7 separate regions of the Homo sapiens genome follow, and all the other regions are linked to region 7. Evidence: promoter capture Hi-C in 16 types of primary human blood cells and fetal thymus (Javierre and others, 2016). All regions are on one chromosome and are shown on one strand. The core of a region is centred on a gene start or on the middle of the fragment in contact, and the rest is flanking DNA. Distances in the headings are between cores, read along the strand shown. Region 1 has its middle 3.1 kb from the start of LINC02828. Region 2 has its middle 15 kb from the start of TRQ-CTG6-1. Region 3 holds the start of TRD-GTC2-6 (tRNA-Asp (anticodon GTC) 2-6). Region 4 holds the start of TRT-AGT6-1 (tRNA-Thr (anticodon AGT) 6-1). Region 5 has its middle 3.4 kb from the start of TRV-AAC1-5. Region 6 has its middle 3.4 kb from the start of C6orf62. Region 7 holds the start of H1-2 (H1.2 linker histone, cluster member).

Region 1 (2,831 bases), core at 231-2,730, 1.3 Mb before region 7:
TAGAAGAAAGAAATCAGTGCCACCAGAGAATAGAAAAATGTTTGAAGAAAAAAGGCAATGAATGACGAAGTGTGTATTTCTTCAAAGTACTAAGGTTAACAAATGTCAAGCACAATTCTATAACTGGCTAAACTTTTATTCAGGATGGAAAGAGTAAAATAAAGCATTTTTATATATTAAAAAAAAAAAAAAAAGAGGCCGGGCGCGGTGGCTCATGCCTGTCATCCTAGCACTTTCGGAGGCCAAGGCGGGTGAATCACCTGAGGTCGGGAGTTCGAGACCAGCCTGACCAACATGGAGAAACTCTACCTCTACTAAAAATACAAAATTAGCTGGGTGTGGTGGCCCATGCCTGTAATCCCAGCTACTCGGAAGGCTGAGGCAGGAGAATCGCTTGAATCCAGGAGACGGAGGTTGCGGTGAGCCGAGATTGTGCCATTGCACTCTAGCCTGGGCAACAAGAGCGAAACTCCATCTCAAAAAAAAAAAAAAAAAAAAGAATATTTAAAGCATCATTATTCATAGTAGCTCCAAATAAAACATAACCTAACCTAAATGTCCATCAACAGTAGAATGGATAAATAAATTGTGATATAATATAGGCATACAAAGAAATGTTTTACAATAATAAATGATAGCTACATGCAACAACATGGATGAATCCCACAAACATTACATTGAGCGAAAGTAGCCAGACACAAAATAATGCTAACTATATAAGTTTGTATAATACAAACTATATAACCATATAAGACTATATTTATATAGGTTGAAGAAAAACAAATCTAATCTATAGTAGCAGAAGTCAAGATAGTGATTACCCTTGGGAGGAAAAAGAAAATAGTGCCCTAGTTATCTACTGGTAAGTAAAAAACCACTCTGAACTTAGCAACTTCGAACAACCACCACAATGTGCTTTGCCAACAAGTCTGCAATTTCGGCAGGGCTTGGAGGGGACAGCTCATCTCTGCCTCAACAGCATAAGCTTGGACAGTTCAAAGGCTGGGGGCAGTGAGGGCGGGTGTTGTTGGGGACTTGAGACTTGGAGGTGAAATCACTGGGAGTCTTACCCACTTACATGTCTGGCAGTTAATGCCGACTGTTTGCTGGGACCTCAGGGACTGTTGGCCAGAATACCTACACTTGTCCTCTCATGTAGCTGCATGGTTTTTCTTTATCATGGTGGCTGGATTCCAAGAGCAAACATCCCAAGAAACAGGAAGAGAAAGCTGCCAGTTTCTTAAGGCCTGGCCTGAAAACTGGCACAGTATCACTTCTGCAGTACTCTATGGGTTAAGCTGTCAATCTTGATTCAAGGGCAGGAGATAGAGACATTATTTCTCGATGTGAGGAATGGTGTCAAAGTAGTATTTGGGGACTATATTTTATAATCGCTGTAAGCTTTAATTAGGAGCACATGAGAGGAGAGGGTGCTTCTGGGGTTCTGGTTTCTTGAGCTAGGTGGTGATTATACAGGTATCTTCACTCTCTAATGATTCCTTCATCTGTACATATGGTTTGTGCACCTTCCTGAGCATATGTTTCAACTCCAATAAAAGAAAAGCTTAAAAAGGATGCAAACATTCTTTATGTCCAGATATAGAACAATCCCTAAGACATAGTAACATGCTATCATGGTTAAGTACTGAGCTCTGAGGGCTTGCCTGCTGGGTTCAAATCTAGTTCTGCCAATCCTAGGCTTTGTGTCTCAGTTTTCTCATTTGTAAAATGGGGATTATAATAGCTCTTACTCCAGGAGGTTATCTCAAGGATTAAATGAGTTAAAACATGCAAAGCATTCAGAATACTAATAGAAAAATAGAAAGTGCTTGAGAACTGCTTGCTATTTTTGTTATATTAAATGAAAATTGCAATTTGTATAGGTAAAGCAGTGTCTACAGTATGATGCCTTATATGGTTTGGCTGTGTCCCCACCCAAATCTCATCTCAAATTGTAGCTCCCATAATCCCCTTGTGTCATGGGAGGGACCCGGTGGGCAGTAATTGAATCATGGGGGTGGGTTTTTTCCATGTTGTTCTCATGATAGTGAATAAATCTCACAAGATCTGATGGTTTTATAAAGGGCAGTTCCCCTGCATACCTGCCCTTGCCTGCCACCATTTAAGATGTACCTTTGCTCCTCCTTCACCTTCTGCCATGATTGTGAGGCCTCCCCAGCCATATGGAACTGTGTGTCCATTAAACCTCTTTTTCTTTATAAATTACCCAATTGTGAATATTTCATCATAACAGTATGAGAACAGGCTAATACACTGCCATTTGTGGGAAAATGAGTAGACGTACCCATGGGTACAAACTAGCTATAAGATCAGGATATACAATAAACTAATAACGTTGGTTGCCTGTGGGAGGGAGATTTTTCACAGTGTAGACTTTGGTACCTTTTGAATTTTCAACTATATGAAGGCTGCATCTGGGAAATGGGTCTGGGTAGGGAAGAGGACTGTTGCTTTTTTATTGAGTGAAAGTAGCCAGACACAAAAATTTAGTGTTATATTTTCTACAATGTACATGATAAACATACTAAAAGAAAAGACAAGATGGGTCAGATTACAGAGGGCCTTATAAAAGACCAGGCATGGAAATTTAGAGTTGATTAAGGCCTGAAAATGGCACTGGCAATGGTGATAAAAGGATGAATTTAAACACTTAATAGAAAAAATCTAGAAAGTAAAATATCTGGATAGAAAATGATAGAGGTAAGTGAAGAGGACACCCAAGTTTTGGTGCGAGTAACTGTTACGGACTGAATTGTGCCTCCCCAAAATTCATATATTGAAATCCTAATCCCTAGTATGCTTCAGAATGT
Region 2 (2,733 bases), core at 217-2,716, 1.7 Mb after region 7:
TTGCTCTTGTCTCAACTGCAAGAGGCATGCCTTCCTCTTATACTAATCCTCCTCAGCACAGACCCTTTACAGGTGTCGGGCTGGGGGACGGTCAGGTCTTTCCCTTCCCAAGAGGCCATATTTCAGACTATCACATGGGGAGAAACCTTGGACAATACCTGGCTTTCCTAGGCAGAGGTCCCTGCGGCCTTCTGCAGTGTTTGTGTCCCTGGGTACTTGAGATTAGGGAGTGGTGATGACGCTTAACGAGCATGCTGCCTTCAAGCATCTGTTTAACAAAGCACATCTTGCACCGCCCTTAATCCATTTAACCCTGAGTTTGACACAGCACATGTTTCAGAGAGCACGGGGTTGGGAGTAAGTTCATAGATTAACAGAATCTCAAGGCAGAAGAATTTGTCTTAGTACAGAACAAAATGGAGTCTCCTATGTCTACTTCTTTCTACACAGACACAGTAACAATCTGATCTCTCTTGCTTTTCCCCACAGAGAAGGCCCATGCAACACAGACCTAAACCCCTTTGAGAGGAAAATAGGGCATTTGGTGGAGGGGAGGGGAGGAGTCCTGGCTTGCGGCTATAAAAATGTTTTTCCACTCAGATTATTTTCTGAAAGAGGCTGAGATCAGGCACCTGAGTCACTGAAGGGTTCATGCTAGTGGAGTGAGAGGGCCAGGGGAACAAGGAAGGTGATAAATCTCATCTCTATTTGATAGGAATGCTGGGTAGTCATAGGAGAAACATCAAGCAGTAATTTCACATAACAGCAAAAAAGGAGCTGTTAAAATTAGCTACAAGGACAAGAAAGAACTTGGGCTGATAAGACCCTAACAAACAGGATGGTGGCTAAGCTGTCTGAAACCGTCTGGGTCCAACATGGCGCTGGATTTGACCCATGCCCTACCCAAGACCTAATTATATGCTAATTACCATACGAAATTACACACCCACCAGCGCCCTGACAGATCGAGTACGCCCATATTTAATATAAAAATGGGTGGCATCTCAATTTTATGAAACCTTCGCCTTTCCCCCAGAAAACCTCATGATTAGTCCACCCTCTAATTACAAGAGCCCATAAAAATAGAAAACTCAAACTCTGTTGGGCACGACTCATTCTCATGAGCTCACCCACACTTCCCTAAGTGTGTACTTTTGCTTAGCAATAAAAGCTTCTTGCCTTTGGCTTCATTCTGACTCCTCCCTGAATTCTTTCTTACGAAGGTGTCAAGAACCTGGAAACTGGCTGGGGCTGGGGCTGGGGTCTCACTGGCTTCTGGAAACCCTTCTGAGCCCTCTGGCAACACCTGTAGTGTAAGCAGCAATTCAGTGCTGTGATGCCTCGGTCCCAGACCTTTTTGGCACCAGGGACTGGTTTCATGGAAGACAGTTTTTCCATGGACAGGGGTTGGGGGAGAGGGGAATGGTTTCAGGATGATTCAAATGCATTACATTTATTGTGCACTTTATTTCTATTATTACATTGTGATATATAATAATTATACAACTCACCATAATGTAGAATCAGACGGAGCCCTGAGCTTGTTTTCCTACAACTAGATGGTCCCATCAGGAGGTTATGGGAAACAGTGACAGATCATCAGGCATTAGATTCTCATAAAGAGTGGGCAACATAGATCCCTCAAATGGGCAGTTTACAATTGGGTTAGAACTCCTATAAGAATCTAATGCCTCAGATGATCTGACAGGAGGTGGAGTTCAGGCGGTAATGAGAGTGATGGGGAGCAGCTATAAATACAGATGAAGCTTCACTGGCTCTCCTGCTGCTCACCTTCTGCTGTGTGGTCCGGTTTCTAACAGGCTGCCACTACCACTGACCAGTACCGGGTCAGTGGCCCAGGGGTTGGGGCTCCCTGCTGTGATAGTTAATACCCATGGCTCCAAATCTAGTGGCCCCACGTCAGGTCCTGGTGGGACCTGGTTCAGTTTTGCTTAGGACTCATCTTGTCCACATGAACCATTCCAGCCTGCTTTCTCATGCTCTTATTCTGGGATATCTTCCTAACCCCAGTATATCTGCCTCAGTGTCTCACCCTGTCTTTTTAGAAAAGGAAAAAAAAAAAAAAAGAAAGAAAACGTAAATGAAATTGGTGGAGAGTAATGGCCACCAATCCTATGCCTGACCTGGAACTGGAAACACAAGGCTTTCCTGAAGACAGAGAAACTCTGAGAAAACGGGAAAAGCAAGTTGGTGAAAAGAGCAAAATAAAAGTTTCAGAAGGGACTTTCTTGACATAGCACAGGATGAAGGAGTATCAAAGGTCTCTGTTTGGGCCCTTGGCTGGGAAAGCCCACATTCGCTGAAAGTGAAAGCTGTCCGCAGACATAACACCAAAGGGTTAGGGTAGGAAGCCCCTTTTTATGAATTCAACGGCAGGGATAGGGGTGGGGATAAGGTGGGGCTGCGTGGGTACACCAGGCGCCCGGAAAGCTGCAAAAGGCGTTAGGTCAATATGCAAAAATACTTCTAGGTCAATACGCAAAAATACTTCTAGTGTTGGGAAAGAAATTTTATTGGGGACAGGAAACAAGCGAACTGGCTAATATACTTTCTCTCTAAGGAGAGTAGTCTGACTTAATGCCTTCCTCGATTCTCTCTAAGGGCTTCTGAGGGCTTTGCTTGACTTTTCTCCTGTTTCTGCTCCTGAGCCCAAAGCAGCTCTTAAAGAAAGAAATGTCAGGTTTTGAAGCATGTTTGGTAGATTTGGAAAGG
Region 3 (2,701 bases), core at 193-2,692, 1.4 Mb after region 7:
AGAGGATTCGCGGTTGGGCGGAGACACGTTCGCTGAATTGCCTTGCGTATATTTGGTAGGGGAAACGTGTGACTACAGAGCAAAGAAAGATGGACAATAGCGAGTAACTTCACAGGGATTTCCTAAGAGCTCCATTTTCACGTCAATTCCTCGTTAGTATAGTGGTGAGTATCCCCGCCTGTCACGCGGGAGACCGGGGTTCGATTCCCCGACGGGGAGGAGGCTTAAACTTTTTTTTAGAAAAGCACACTTCCGGTAAACACAGTCTCTAGTCTTCTGGGCAAATGTTGGGTTCTCTTTTTCTTTAGCAGAGTTCTTTCAAACCAACGAAATACTGATCGCAAAAACCATAAGCTGTAGAAATCATGAGGTTCTGTAATAGCAAGAAAATTTCCACTCTGCACTGTAATCTCCATCACAGTGGAGAAACCGGGTAGATACCATCTTACCCAAGTGATTGAATCAGTATTGGGACGAATCTACATTATATACCTTTTTTACAGGATGTGCTCATGAGAGCACAACGTCACTTTTGTGGTATTCTTGGCAAAAATATGTAATCTAAATCAGAAAACATCAGACAAACCCATATTGAGGGAGATTTTAACAAAATAACTGACTTGTACGCCTCAAAAACTGCAATTACTTTTGCATCAACCTAGTAACAGGCAAGCAGGGAGGAAAAATAAATAAATAAATAAATAAATAAATAAACAAATAAATAAAATAACAAAGTTACAGAACACAAAGAAAGGCTGACTAAATAGTCCACATTATAGAAGATCTTAAAGATATGACAGCAACATATGGTCTGGAATTTTTATCTTAAAGGACATTATTGAAATAGTTGGTGAAATCTCAATAAAGTCTATAGATTTTATAATATTATGAATGTGAATTCCTGATTGTATTAATTGTTCTATGGTTATAGAACAAAATGTCTTTAAGAAAATTCACACCTATTTACAAAATACGTATTTAAGGGTAAGGGGAGGTATGTGTCTTCAAACTCACTGTCAAATAGTTCAGAAATATACATTTATGTATATATATGAGAGAGAGAAGGAAAAGAAAATATAGGAATATCCTTAATGTGCTAATATTGAGGGAATTGGGGTGAAGGGTGCTCAGGAATTATCTGTATTATTCATGTACTGTGTCTGTCAGTCTAAAATAATTTCAGAATGGAAAGTTAAAAGGAGAAAAGCCTAATAAAACTATAAATGAAAATATACGAATTAAAATGTAAAAGGGCAAATATACAATTTTGAACAATGCATATGACAAGAGTGACGACTACATTAATGAATAGGAATTTAGAACTGATGAAGGAGTGGGATTCAAAATGTTATAAGTGAGCAAGAAAATTCATAACATGTGACAAAAGCTACATAAAGAGTGAATGCCTGAAACAACATTGTTTCGTAATGATTACATGTTGGAATATGAAAACAAATGGTACTAAATTTCAAAACAGCAACGACAATATAAAATGGAAAGGTATGGCGAAATCCAAATCATTCTAAGCTCCTTTATAATAAGGTAGGAATTAGAAGTGTACCTAGTATATACCCTCGACCAACGCTGAATGGATGAATATTAAAAGCAATATTTTTGTGAGCCATAATCAAAGCCAACAGCATTGCTTCTTTAATGAAAGAATACTCTTCCAGCATATAACAATATGTCTGATTTTGTTTTAAAAATACTTATTGGCCAGGCGAGGTGGCTCATGCCTCTAATCCAAGCACTTTGGGAGGCTGAGGCGGGTGGATCACCTGAGGTCTGGAGTTCGATACCAGCCTGGCCAACCTGCTGAAACCCCATCTCTACTAAAAATACAAAAATTAGCTGGGTGTGGTGGCGGGCACCTGTAATCCCAGCTACTCGGAGGCTGAGGCAGGAGAATCACTTGAACCCGGGAGGCGGAGGTTGCAGTGAACCAAGATTGCAGCATTGCACTCCAGCCTGGGCGACAGAGCAAGACTCTGTCTCCAAAAAAAAAAAAAAGAAAAATAATTATTATTAACATTTTTGTCATGAAATTTTGGCCATCAAATTTAAAAGTTAATATTATTGTGCAACACTTTCAGCCAATGGATTCTTTTTTTCGTTAACACTATTGAACAGTAGAGTGATTGATGCCTCATCCTTTTCACCTAACATTGAATCTCGTTTGTCTCTATTACTTCCTTTTAATCTATTATTTCTTTTTTAATCTAGAAGAAAAATGATTCATCGTGGATAAGAACTATAAAGCAATTGTTTTGTTTGTTTGTTTGTTTCTGGCTTTTTTTTTTTTTTGAGACAGAGTCTCGCTCTATCGCCCAAGCTGCTGTGCAATGGCGCAATCTTGGCTCACCACAACCTCTGCCTCCTGAGTTCGAGCCATTCTCCTGGCTCAGCCTCCCGAGTAGCTGGGATTGCAGGCGTGTATTTTGAGTAGAGACAGGGTTTCACCACGTTGGCCAGGCTGGTCTTGAACTCCTGACCTCGTGATCTACCTGCCTCAGCCTCCCAAAATGCTGGGATTACAGGTGTGAGCCACCAAGCCCGACTTAAAGCAACTGTTTGAAGGCACTGATAAGCTGTCAACCCAGGCAAGGCTTGACAAACTACAATCCTTGAGAGAAGGGAAGCACATTATATGAGTTTGCACATTTGAAAGTGCTTTCCTCCTGAAGGTGTGTCCCGTATTGCA
Region 4 (2,700 bases), core at 132-2,631, 1.1 Mb after region 7:
TACCAAGATTTATGAAACACCTGTCAGTGAGAAACAGAAGTCGGGGAATACATAACTAAGCTTCACAAAAAACCTCAGCCAATAAAGCTGAAAAATTGGTATAACCTGGCTTTGTGATTAGCTAGGTAGTGAGTAGAGGTTCATGACCCACAGGAAATAAATCAGAAGCAACACCAGGCTTGGTTAAAAAATAAAAACTCAACCTCAACCTAAGTAATTTCTCATCTTTCCAGGGTCTTGCATTTTGTGGATGCTTAATGAATGCATATGCAAAGCACCAGGCAGTTATTTAAATATTTCAGGATATTGGTTTCATCTGCTTTTCCCCATGCTAAGCTGCATTCAGCTAAACATTCCATGACTCCTTCTGCATTCATTAAACTGACAAAGAACCTGAGATAAAAGGTCATGCAACTCTGTGAGGCCCAAGTGAGAGGTTCCCACAGCATCCTGTGAGGGCTATCACATTGTACTCTACTTTGTTCTCTACTTCTCTGTATCATCCACGCAGTTTTACAATCTATGTGGGTCTAGAAATTGAGTCTATTTTAACCCAGCAGGCAAATGAGCAGAACAAGACTATGACAGAAGCAAAGATATCCATCCAGGAGAACTCCCTGTGTACACCTAACTCATTGTTTCTAACAGCAGATCTCCTGTTGAGACCAAAGCTGTCTTTGAAACAGAGGGTCTCAAGGTGCCTAGTTTGGGTAAGTGGGAAGCAGGGTGACCACAGATCTCCACGACATCACTGTGTCCTCGTCTAGGCTCACTTTCTTGTGCCAGATTAGATAAAATAGAAGGAAGCATAATGGTTTTACTCAATTGCAGTGAATTAGCTCAGAAGGTAGTGTCGTGGGTTCTATAACCCAGCGGTAAAGAGATTGGTTTCCATATCACTTGTGTTTTTGTTTGTTGTTGGATTTTTTTAGTTGGTTAGTTTGTTTTGGGGTGTTTTTTGTTGTTGTTTTATCTCCCTGTAGAACATAAATTCAATAATGGAAGAAAATTTTGCTGTTTTATTCAATGTTCTTTCTCCAATACCTAGAAAAGTACCTGAAATGCAGTAATGACTCAACATTTGTGGACAGAATGAATGCACGAACAGAGAAATAAATTTAAAATATGTTGCGATATCCAATATTTCCTGTAGGGGGAGATAGTCACCATGAAATAGAAATTTCACTCATTTCAATTTGAAATAAATTCTGAAATCTTGCATTGAAGAAAAGTATTTTTTTTAGTGTTGGAATTGCTGCTTTGTTGCTGGTTCAGAAACACAGATGTGCTTTCTTTGTCACAAAATTAAGTACACTTTTGTCAAATTGATACATTTTACAAAAATGTTATAAATACGATATATCTGAACATATGCCCAACAGGGGCCCTGTGGCTTAGCTGGTCAAAGCGCCTGTCTAGTAAACAGGAGATCCTGGGTTCGAATCCCAGCGGGGCCTTACGTGTTCAATTTTATATTTTCAATAGTATGTTGCAAATACATATGTTGAAAATGCATTAAGGAATTTATAGGTTGTGAAATCCGTATTGAGCGATTAGCACAATTATGGAGAGTCCCTTGCAGGTAACTGCATCACAATATGAAAGGGTTGGGATGAAGGGAAAAATTAATAAAGTTTCTGTTGGTAAAAAGCAATGGGTTTGCTGATGACAGGTAAGACTGGGGATATACAAGTTGTACAAAAAAAAAATCTTGTAATACATAGTAGAGAGTAACATTTCAAATTCTGTTGTAGACGTTCAGTCTCCAGCCTCTTAACCTTGATAGCCATCATTTTCAGCTACATGATAGATTTTGATTATCAGTGTCAGGCAAATAATTAATAAGTCATGGCATTTTGTTTGGAGTCTGATTCACTTTGATTTTTGAAAACAAGAGAGCAACAGTGCAATTTATATTCTCACCATTTCTGTTTTGTATGACCCTAAGAATTGTCTTATTTGTGCATCTAGGATCTAGGGACTCAATGATATCTCGAGGAAATAAATCACAAATGAATGAAGACTTTCCTGAATCTTAAGTGGCATTGCAGTTCATAAACTAAAGTGTACCCTCTACAGCACTGGCCTACTCATTAGGCTTCTCAGTTTTATCTAAAGAGATTTCAAATGTTATTATCAGAGTTCTACCAGAGTCATAGTCTTTTCACTGCTGTAAAAGTAGTCCTGCACTGTGCCTGAAATCATTTATACTTCAGAGTAAATCTGAATTCTGCTTTCTCATTTTATTCATAGCAGTTCTCTCCCACCTACTTTCAAAGGAATGTGAGCAAAAGAGATTGTCACAAGCCTCAGCTTCACTTCTAAGAAAACTGATATTTAAAGGATCCTGAAAATTGGAATGCTGCTATTGAAAAATTTGTAAACAATTGATTAAGCTATGTCTTCAAAGTTTAAGTATAAAAATACAAACTTGAATACTACAGTATTCTCTCCTTCTTGCAAACTAAATTCAAAGAAGGCTGAAAATATCTTAAGATTTATATATTACATGTCATAGTGTTATTCTTGCTCTACGCTTACTAAAAGCTCAGAGAGGAACAAATATGTTCTCAGGTACATTTCAGTTAAGTGGCCCTAAACAACCTGTGTCTGAAATATTAAGTGGAACACACAAATCACATACCAAACTCTCACTACCTGACACCTGTCAGTTACTCCAAACTCAACCTACACATTGAA
Region 5 (2,700 bases), core at 82-2,581, 1.7 Mb after region 7:
AAGTAAATCAGGAAGATCACTTGAGCCCAGGAGTTTGAGGTTGCATGTGCAATGATTGTGTCTGTGAAAAGCCACTGCCCTCCAGCCTGGGCAATATAGGGAGACTCCATCTCTAATTTAAAAAAAATTGTTGTAAACACATTTATTTCATATTAATTAAAATAAATTATTGGCTGGGCACAGTGGCTCATGCCTGTAATTCTAGCACTTTGGGAGGCTTAGGCGGGATGATCACTTGAGCCATGAGTTCGAGACAGCCTGGGCAACATTGCGAGATCCCCATTTCAAATTTTTTTAAAAAGAAAAATAAATTATTGAGCTACAAACAATGTGCCAGACAATTGTGACCCTATGTTGTCACTAGGAGTACCAGAGGCATGCAGGACAAGATTACACAATCCTAACTCTCAAGGAGAAGAAAGAGGAACATGAGCAGCCAATATGCCATAAGCAAAAAGTGGAGCAACAGACGTACAGATTGCGAAGCATTTGGATGGTAGTATAGAGAGGAGGCATCTTCTTAGTCCTTATGAACTGGCAGGGCAGATCTGGCAGGGATCTTTGGAGCCAAAATATCTGAGTACAATTCCTTCCTCTGCCACTTTCTCATCATATGTAGGGTTTCAGGCAAGCTATTTGGCTTCTTCATGACTCTGTCTGTGCTGGTAAAATGGATATGGATACAGTGTGTACCTCATAGAATTATCATAAACTCAATTAAGAAAAACTCCCTGAAGTGTTTCAGACAGTGCTCAACTTACAGAAGTAGTTACTGCTTTTATTTTTAGTATTACTTTTAGCCTTGTCAAGCCTCCTGAGTCAAGATCTATCCCTGTCATTTCGGGTTTACATTTGAGCAAGTTAAGGCTTGAACAATGTGCTGAGGTTATGCTAGCTAGGAAAGGACACCACCAGGTGTGTTTGTCTCCAGAACTGGTGTTCTTGACCACCATGCTATACTAGGTAGTTTTATAAACCCCTGTTTATGACAAAAAAAGATTATAGAGAATATTATGGACCTCCTTATTTCCATGATCCTACTTCAACAATTAGTCTCTCCTCCCTCTGCCAAGCCCCCATGATAATTTAAAGCAAATTTAGACATTTTCATCTAGCAACAGCTTTTTGTGGCATTTTCATAGCATATGCTTCCATTTAACTTTGTAGTTAATGAGGAAATTTGTTGAGCTGTTCTCCCCTGGGCGGGAGAGATGCCATGCAGGGAGTCCTAAGCTTCCCATTGTCCCTCAGATCAGTAAAGAAGACCAGCCCTAAGCTGCTGACCACAGGTTCATGGGACTCTTCTGAGGGAATGTGAGGCCCAGAACTTACGCTAGTGATTCTCCAGGTGGACTATTCCTAAGATTCCTTGCCATACCCCCTTCTAGTGCAGAGGGTCTCTGGTATGGCCCACAAGTCTTAATTTTTAGAAGCTTCCAGGTGATTCAGAAGCTGAGGACCTTTGGGAAGATTTTGACAATCCTTTCATTAATGACAAATTTGTTTCATCTTAAAAAACAAAACTTCATCCTTGTATGTGTGGAGGAGGACACTATAGTGAAATTAAAGAAAAAAAAAGTCAAATTATCTGCTCCCTCCATCTACCTGAGGTTTTCTTGCTTGGCATTTGCAAAGAAATTGGGCGCATGGGTGAATACTTTGATTGCTATAAAGAGTAGAGTTTGGCCGTTGATTTTAGTACACTAAAAGTGCAAGGGCAAGAAACATACCAGCACCTTGACAGTTTCTGGGAAGAAACTTAACGGCACCTTCTGGACCCAATCTGCGTGGCGCAGTGGCCTAAAGAGGCGACCGAACCTGCATCCCTAGCTCCGCCTTCCCGGTCCCTGCACACCCCGGCAGCTTCCGCGCGATTCTTCCCGCCCCCGACACCCGCCGCCACACAAAGGCGCTGCGTCCTGGCGGCCAGCGGGGGCTTAGTCTAGGCCCGGCAGGGTTTTCTGGAAGACCAGAGGGCCACCAGGTCACCGAGGTGGGAAGTGAAGAGAGGTTCGACGCTGCCTCAGGCCTGGGCCTGGCCGGTGGGAGACACAGCAAGGACTCTGGGAGCCTGCAGAGCAGAGGCCGCCGCGGGGCCGGGCCCCCGTCTCCTCCTCAGGTCCAAGACCAGAGGGTCTGCAGGGCCCCAGAGCAGCTGGCCGCGCTCCGCTTCCCACCGCGCTCTCTGCTGGAACTCATGTGGTTGTTTATCCTTATTTTGCTAAATTTCTTTATTTGCTGTAACAGTTTGTGTGTGTGTGTGTTTGAGTGTGTGTGTGTAATTTTCAGGGTTTTCTATATATAAAAATCATGTCACGGCCAGGCTTGGTGGCTCACACCTGTAATCCCAGCACTTTGGGAGGCCAAGGTAGGAGGATCGCCTGAGCCCAGGAGTTCGAGACCAGCCTGGGCAACACGGGCAACATAGCGAGACCCTAGTCTCTAAAATTTTTTTTATTAGCCGGGCATGGTGGCAGGCGCCTGTGGTCCCAGTTACTCCGGAGGATGAGGCAGGGTAATCGCTTGAACCAGGGAAGTCGAGGCTTCAGTGAGGCATAATTGCTCTGCTGCATCCCAGCCTGGGTGACAAAGAGAGATCCCATCTCTCTCTCAAAAAAAAGTCATGTTATCTGTGAACATAGATAATTTTACTTTTTCCTTGCCAATACTGTGCTGAATAACATGGTGAAAGTGGGCACC
Region 6 (2,853 bases), core at 1-2,500, 1.3 Mb before region 7:
GGGGCTCCCCGCCACTCCTTCCGCCCCCCTTCTTCAGGAAGTCCCAGTCTCCTGAGTTGGCTCTTCGCCCCGCCCCGATGTCGTCATAAAAGCACGCCCTCAACCATCCTCAACAAAACACCCGGATGGAGTCGCACTTCCCGAGTCTCGTCAGCCTCTCAGAGTCAGGCTGGGCGCGTGACAGAGCCGAACTAGCGACCTGGGCGGGCCAAAACTGCGGAAGTCGGCGGAGAGTGGGCGAGGGTAGGGGCGGAGCAAAGAAGGAAAAGGAAAGTGTGTGTTGGAGATTGGAAGATTCTTATTTCGATTCTTATAATTAGTTAGTCCTGGGGGTCGGCCCCGCGGTATCCTGCGGCAACAAACCTAGAACTCAATTCGACACCTGGAATTTAAACGGCGTGCGGGAGCAGATGTCTCATGTTAGTGCTACTTGCCTCTGTCCCCACCCCGCCACGTGCGCAGGCAGGGAGGGCGGTCCTCAAGCTTCGAACAAGGTCAAAGACGTTGTTCAGACGTTGCTGCTGTGGCTTAGGAGAGGAGCAGCCCAGTCTGACTCGTGGATTTTTACCCACTGCTGTCAGAACACACTTTCTGTTAGAATCCCCCAAGACCTCAGACCTACAGCCTGCCCCTTAGGTGGTTCACTGTCTTCATCGAAACGTTTGCCGCCGAGTCGCACGTCCTTGGCACCAAAAAGCGTTGAGTCCATTTTTCAAAGCTCTAATGTGCTCTTTAAAACACAGTTATGTAAGTACTTAGCAAAGGTCAATACTCCACATAAGCAATGCTTATATACTCATTGGCTACTCTGAGATTTTAGAAGTCCATTGGGACCCCAATTACTACTTTTCACTTCGTGAAGTCAAAACAGATCAGCTGTAATAACATTATTTCAGCCATGAGCCAAAAGAATAACTGGTACCCACCCTTCAATATAAATTGTCCAGAACCAAAGGATGAGTCCTGAGATTTCCAAATAACTTCTAATCTCGGAAGATACAGCTTGCATTTTGCTAGTGCTTTGCTGATTTGTTTTCAAAATCATGTAACTATGGAAAGCTCACAGAGATAAAACAGAAAATGTCACGTAGTTTAGAGCATTGGTTTAAAAAAGAAAGATTTTTAAAAGTAAGCCGAGCATGGTGGCTCACGCCTGTAATGCCAGCACTTTGGGAGACCGAGGCAGGCGGATCACCTAAGGTCAGGAGTTCGAGACCAGCCTGGCCAACATGGTGAAACCTCGTCTCTACTGAAAATACTAAAATCAGCCTGGCTTGGTGGCAGGCGCCTGCAGTCCCAGCTACTCGAGAGGCTGAGGCAGGAGAATCGCTTGAACCCGGGAGGCGGAGATTGCAGTGAGCCGAGATCGCACCATTGCACTCCAGCCTGGGCAACAGAGTGAGACTCCGTCGGAAAAAAAAAAAAAAACAAACAAACATATGAGACATACAAGCCAGTATGATCTTCAGGTGATCCGCCTGCCTCAACCTCCCAAAGTGTTGGGATTACAGGCATGAGCCACCATTCCCAGCCGGCTTATATGTTCTTGACCTGGCCTTGACTTGTATCCATGATCAACTTCATGGAAGAATTTTTAAAATAACAGCTTTATTGAAATATAATTCACATACCGTATTTATCTACTTGAAGTGTACAATCCAATGGTTTTTAATATATTCAGTGTTGTGCAGCCATTACATTACCCCAAAAAGAAACCCTGTACCTATTAGCAGTCACTTCTCTTCTTTCTAGTTTATGTTCTGTCTATAGATTTGCCGTTTCTGAAATTTCATATAAATGAAATCATTTAATATGTGGTCTTTTGTGACTGGCTTCTTCACTTAGCATAATGTTTTCAAGGTTCATCCATGTTGTAGCATGTATCAGTACTTAATTCCTTTTTATTGTGGAATAATATGTATTGTATGAAATTCTATATTCATTCATCAGTTGATGGACATTTGAGTTGTCTCTGCCTTTTGGCTGTTATAAATAATGCTGCTATGAACATTTACTTAAAAGCTTTTGTATAGACGTATGTTTTTAATTCTCTTGGGCATATACTTAAGAGTGGAATTACTGGGATATATGTTAACTCTATCTTTAACCATGTGAGAAACTGCCAGATGTTTTCCAAGTCTGTTGCATCATTTTACATTTCCTCCAGCAGTGTATTCCAATTTCTCCACATTCTTGTTATTATGTCTTTTTTAGTATAACCATCCTAGTGGGTATGATGTATGTCATGGTGGTTTTGATTTTCCTTTCCCCAACGATTAATGATGTTGAGCATCTTTTCATGTGCTTATTGGCTGTTCTAATATCTTCTTTGGAGAAATGTCTATTCAGAACTTTTGCCCATTTTTATTTATCTACTTGTTTATTTATTTATTTTTTGAGACAGAGTCTCGCTATGTTGCCCAGGCTGAAGTGCAGTGGCATTATCTCAGCTCACTGCAACCTCCGCTTCCTGGGTTCAAGCAGTTCTTCTGCCTCAGCCCCGAGTAGCTGGGCCCACAGGCCCCCACCACCATGCCCGGATGATTTTTGTATTTTTAGTAGAGACGGAGTTTCACCATGTTGGCCAGGCTCGTCTCAGACTCCTGACCTCAAGTGATCCACCCACCTCGGCCTCCCAAAGTGTTGGGATTACAGGTGTGAGCCACCAAGCTCGGCCTTTTACCCATTTTTAATTTAAAAAATTGTTTTTTTAATTATTAAGGTGTAGAAGTTTTTTATTCTAGATACAAGTTCCCTGTCAAATATATACTTTACAAATACGCTCCCCTATTCTGTGGGCTGTCCTTTCACTTTCTTGGTGATATCCTTCGCAGCACGGAAGTCTTTAATTTT
Region 7 (2,793 bases), core at 163-2,662:
CCACGATTGCCTTGGGTGGAGGAAGGGCTATTGCCGCTGTTGTGGCTGTTTTTTAAATGCATTCCTTCGTTGCCACAGGAATGAGAAATTAACAGCAGAGGAATGTAGGACAAAGGTACCTGCACGCACTCTCCTCCCAGGGCTGGATGTTGCCACTACCTCCAGGAGACATCAACTTGACTACCAACAACATGGAAAGCGTCCGAAATCCCAGACATTAATATAAAGAGAAAAGAGGCAAAACTTTTAAGTCACAGTAAAGCAAAAAACACAGAATAAGCAACGTCTTCCACCATCCAATTAAATACAGAATGAAAGTCATGTACTAGAAGAACGGACCAACCCGGGAGCAGGGCGGGACTTTTGAAAATTTTTTAGTCCAATCCGGACATCCCTTTAGACTAAGAAACTGGCTCTTGTTTTGCGGTCTTTTCTGCCGTTCACAGGCCTGGGGCGGGACTGCCATCCCAAAACCATCCGCCAGCGAGAAAAGCCTCCGGTCAGGGACCTAGAAGCCGCAATAAAGGTTTAAATGCTGTAACCTCACCACGGCCACTCTCCAACCCCGTCACCCAATTCGTCTGATACCTCAGTAACTCCCATACGACTAACCTTAAGTAACAGGGCAGAACAAGAAAAGGCAGATAGTAAAGAAATTATCCAGCTCTTTTATTGAGATCAGTGGTGGCTCTGAAAAGAGCCTTTTGGGTTTTAGAAGTAGGCGTTCGCCTATTTCTTCTTGGGCGCCGCCTTCTTAGGCTTGACAACCTTGGGCTTAGCGGCCTTGGGCTTCACAGCCTTAGCAGCACTTTTGGCAGCTTTCTTGGGCTTCGCAACCTTGGCCTTCTTTGGGCTCTTAGCCACTTTCTTGGTTACAGTGGCCGCGGCCGGCTTCTTCGCTTTCTTCGGTGTTTTCTTAGCGCTCTTCTTCGGAGTTGCGCCGCCAGCCGCCTTCTTGGGCTTCTTGGCTGCCCCAACTGGCTTCTTAGGTTTGGTTCCGCCCGCCTTTTTAACCTTGGGCTTGGCTTCCCCGGAGGCTGCCTTCTTGTTGAGTTTAAAGGAGCCAGAAGCACCGGTGCCTTTCGTTTGCACCAGAGTGCCCTTGCTCACCAGGCTCTTGAGACCAAGTTTGATACGGCTGTTGTTTTTCTCCACATCATAGCCGGCGGCAGCCAACGCTTTTTTCAGAGCAGCCAGAGAAACTCCGCTACGCTCTTTAGAGGCGGCCACAGCCTTGGTGATGAGCTCTGACACCGGGGGACCAGACGCCTTACGAGGCGTACCCCCAGCCTTTTTGGCCGCCTTCTTCTTTACAGGGGCCTTCTCCGCAGGAGGCGCGGCAGCGGGAGCGGCAGGAGCAGTCTCGGACATGTTGAGAATCAAAAACTCGGGTACAAGTGGCAAAGCGCCGATGAAGCAGCGCCTGGGCAGGGCCGCTGTATATATAGAGCGCAGGCGCGCTCTGATTGGTGCTCTGGTCGCCCGCCTGGCTGGCAGGCTCTGAGCCGCTGCGCTGCTCCCAAGTTGTGTTTGTTCCACCTCACAAAAGGGGAAAAATATTAAAATTCCCCGCACCAAATCACTTGGGTTTGGTCAGGAAAGGATCTCAGAAGCCTCGGGCTTCATGCTCTTCATTTATTTTTTCCACAAACACAAAAACAACGCGTCCAGGCGTCCCCAATTCCCCCAACTCCGAAGGAAGTCTGGGGCAGTCAGAGACCACTTTCTGTTTTTCTTATAAATTACCTGTTCGCTCCTTTGCCCCTGAAGGTTCTTTTTCCCAGGGGTGGTTGGGCACATGCTTCCCTTATTTTTGAAGAAAAAAGCGAAATGGTTTCCACCTAAATTTTCATGATAATTCTGTTTCTTCACAAGGGAAGTAACACAGGTCCTCTGTGAATTCTTCGTGCAGTCGCACAGGAACTGTGGACTGGGACAAGGATTCCACGGCCAGTCCAAAGCAATTAGGGCGGGATGGGAGGGGGTTCATGAGCCTTGCTAGGGTCCGGGGTGGTGGGGGGCTACAGACTTAAATCTTTGATTTGAAGACATTGAAACTATCAAATCCCTCTTTTCATAGATGGGGGTGGGGCATCCTTTTCACTTCTCTACAGGCGAGAAATTGGGCTCTTTTTAAAGAGCTCTGAGGTCCCCCTCTGAGTTGTGTAAGGCAGGAGGTCTGGCCCTCAAGATAGAGATCATAAAGGAACAAGGGAGAGCCCTTAAGCCTGCAAAAAAGCCAATAGATTTGGCAGTTAGAGGCACTGAGATAATATGTTTTCAAAGAAAACAAGCATTTTTTATTTATTTATTTTTGTACGCTGCAATATAGAAATGAATTTCAGCCCATGAAAATTGTAGGTTACTTTCAGTAACCATACCTTACGCAAGTTACCATATAGGACAATCTCCAGTTGGGAACTCAAATATATCTTTTGAGTTGCAAATAAAGCAACTGACTTTAATAAAACACACTCTTGACTTTTAAGATGAACAATGTATTTGAAATTTATTTTTTTAAATAGCAAAATTTAACACAGAAAGACAAGAAAAGTACCAGAACATGTAATTTATTATAAGATCTGTTGTTGATGAGCTGAAAAATCACCTCTTCTCATCCCCTCTGAAACTATTCTGTTCTAAAGTTTGCTACTTTAAGGTTCACTACTTCTTATTTTACTCTCCGACCCCAAGTAATTGCTATTTTTTTCTTGAGATTAAAGGCAAAGTAAATTGTCTGCCCATATATTTGATATAATTATAGATTCATATTTAGGGACAAAGGTAATATTA

The links. Contacts are between HindIII fragments. The CHiCAGO score rates a contact against its expected background, and 5 or more counts as called.
Region 1: a contact is called between a fragment that was not itself captured here and the fragment with the promoter of H1-2 in region 7, in 1 of 17 cell types (M1 macrophages). The highest score is 5.1, in M1 macrophages.
Region 2: a contact is called between a fragment that was not itself captured here and the fragment with the promoter of H1-2 in region 7, in 1 of 17 cell types (M2 macrophages). The highest score is 7.0, in M2 macrophages.
Region 3: a contact is called between a fragment that was not itself captured here and the fragment with the promoter of H1-2 in region 7, in 1 of 17 cell types (naive CD8 T cells). The highest score is 6.1, in naive CD8 T cells.
Region 4: a contact is called between a fragment that was not itself captured here and the fragment with the promoter of H1-2 in region 7, in 1 of 17 cell types (total B cells). The highest score is 5.2, in total B cells.
Region 5: a contact is called between a fragment that was not itself captured here and the fragment with the promoter of H1-2 in region 7, in 1 of 17 cell types (monocytes). The highest score is 7.2, in monocytes.
Region 6: a contact is called between a fragment that was not itself captured here and the fragment with the promoter of H1-2 in region 7, in 1 of 17 cell types (M0 macrophages). The highest score is 6.0, in M0 macrophages.

Annotation. Positions count from the first base shown.
Region 1 is chr6:24,737,751-24,740,581 of GRCh38, forward strand. No RefSeq gene overlaps it. Among named protein-coding and RNA genes, the nearest start is that of LINC02828, 3.1 kb to the right of the region's middle. The HindIII fragment of the contact is 163 bases long and covers 1,400-1,562 here.
Region 2 is chr6:27,774,941-27,777,673 of GRCh38, forward strand. No RefSeq gene overlaps it. Among named protein-coding and RNA genes, the nearest start is that of TRQ-CTG6-1, 15 kb to the right of the region's middle. The HindIII fragment of the contact is 595 bases long and covers 1,170-1,764 here.
Region 3 is chr6:27,479,527-27,482,227 of GRCh38, forward strand. It overlaps TRD-GTC2-6 (tRNA-Asp (anticodon GTC) 2-6), which reads left to right and starts at 148; the gene lies at 148-219. RefSeq lists a silencer at 201-260. The HindIII fragment of the contact is 3,440 bases long and covers 1-2,701 here.
Region 4 is chr6:27,160,888-27,163,587 of GRCh38, forward strand. TRT-AGT6-1 (tRNA-Thr (anticodon AGT) 6-1) reads left to right here and starts at 1,384; the gene lies at 1,384-1,457. The HindIII fragment of the contact is 2,646 bases long and covers 59-2,700 here.
Region 5 is chr6:27,755,540-27,758,239 of GRCh38, forward strand. No RefSeq gene overlaps it. Among named protein-coding and RNA genes, the nearest start is that of TRV-AAC1-5, 3.4 kb to the left of the region's middle. The HindIII fragment of the contact is 200 bases long and covers 1,232-1,431 here.
Region 6 is chr6:24,721,178-24,724,030 of GRCh38, forward strand. No RefSeq gene overlaps it. Among named protein-coding and RNA genes, the nearest start is that of C6orf62, 3.4 kb to the left of the region's middle. RefSeq lists enhancers at 1-500, 246-1,039, 631-680, 731-820. The HindIII fragment of the contact is 1,539 bases long and covers 482-2,020 here.
Region 7 is chr6:26,055,058-26,057,850 of GRCh38, forward strand. It overlaps H1-2 (H1.2 linker histone, cluster member), which reads right to left and starts at 1,413. Exons shown (of 1, transcript NM_005319.4): 1 at 683-1,413. The coding sequence starts at 1,371. The coding sequence ends at 730. RefSeq lists enhancers at 1-515, 926-975, 1,066-1,465 and a silencer at 366-435. The HindIII fragment of the contact is 9,556 bases long and covers 1-2,793 here.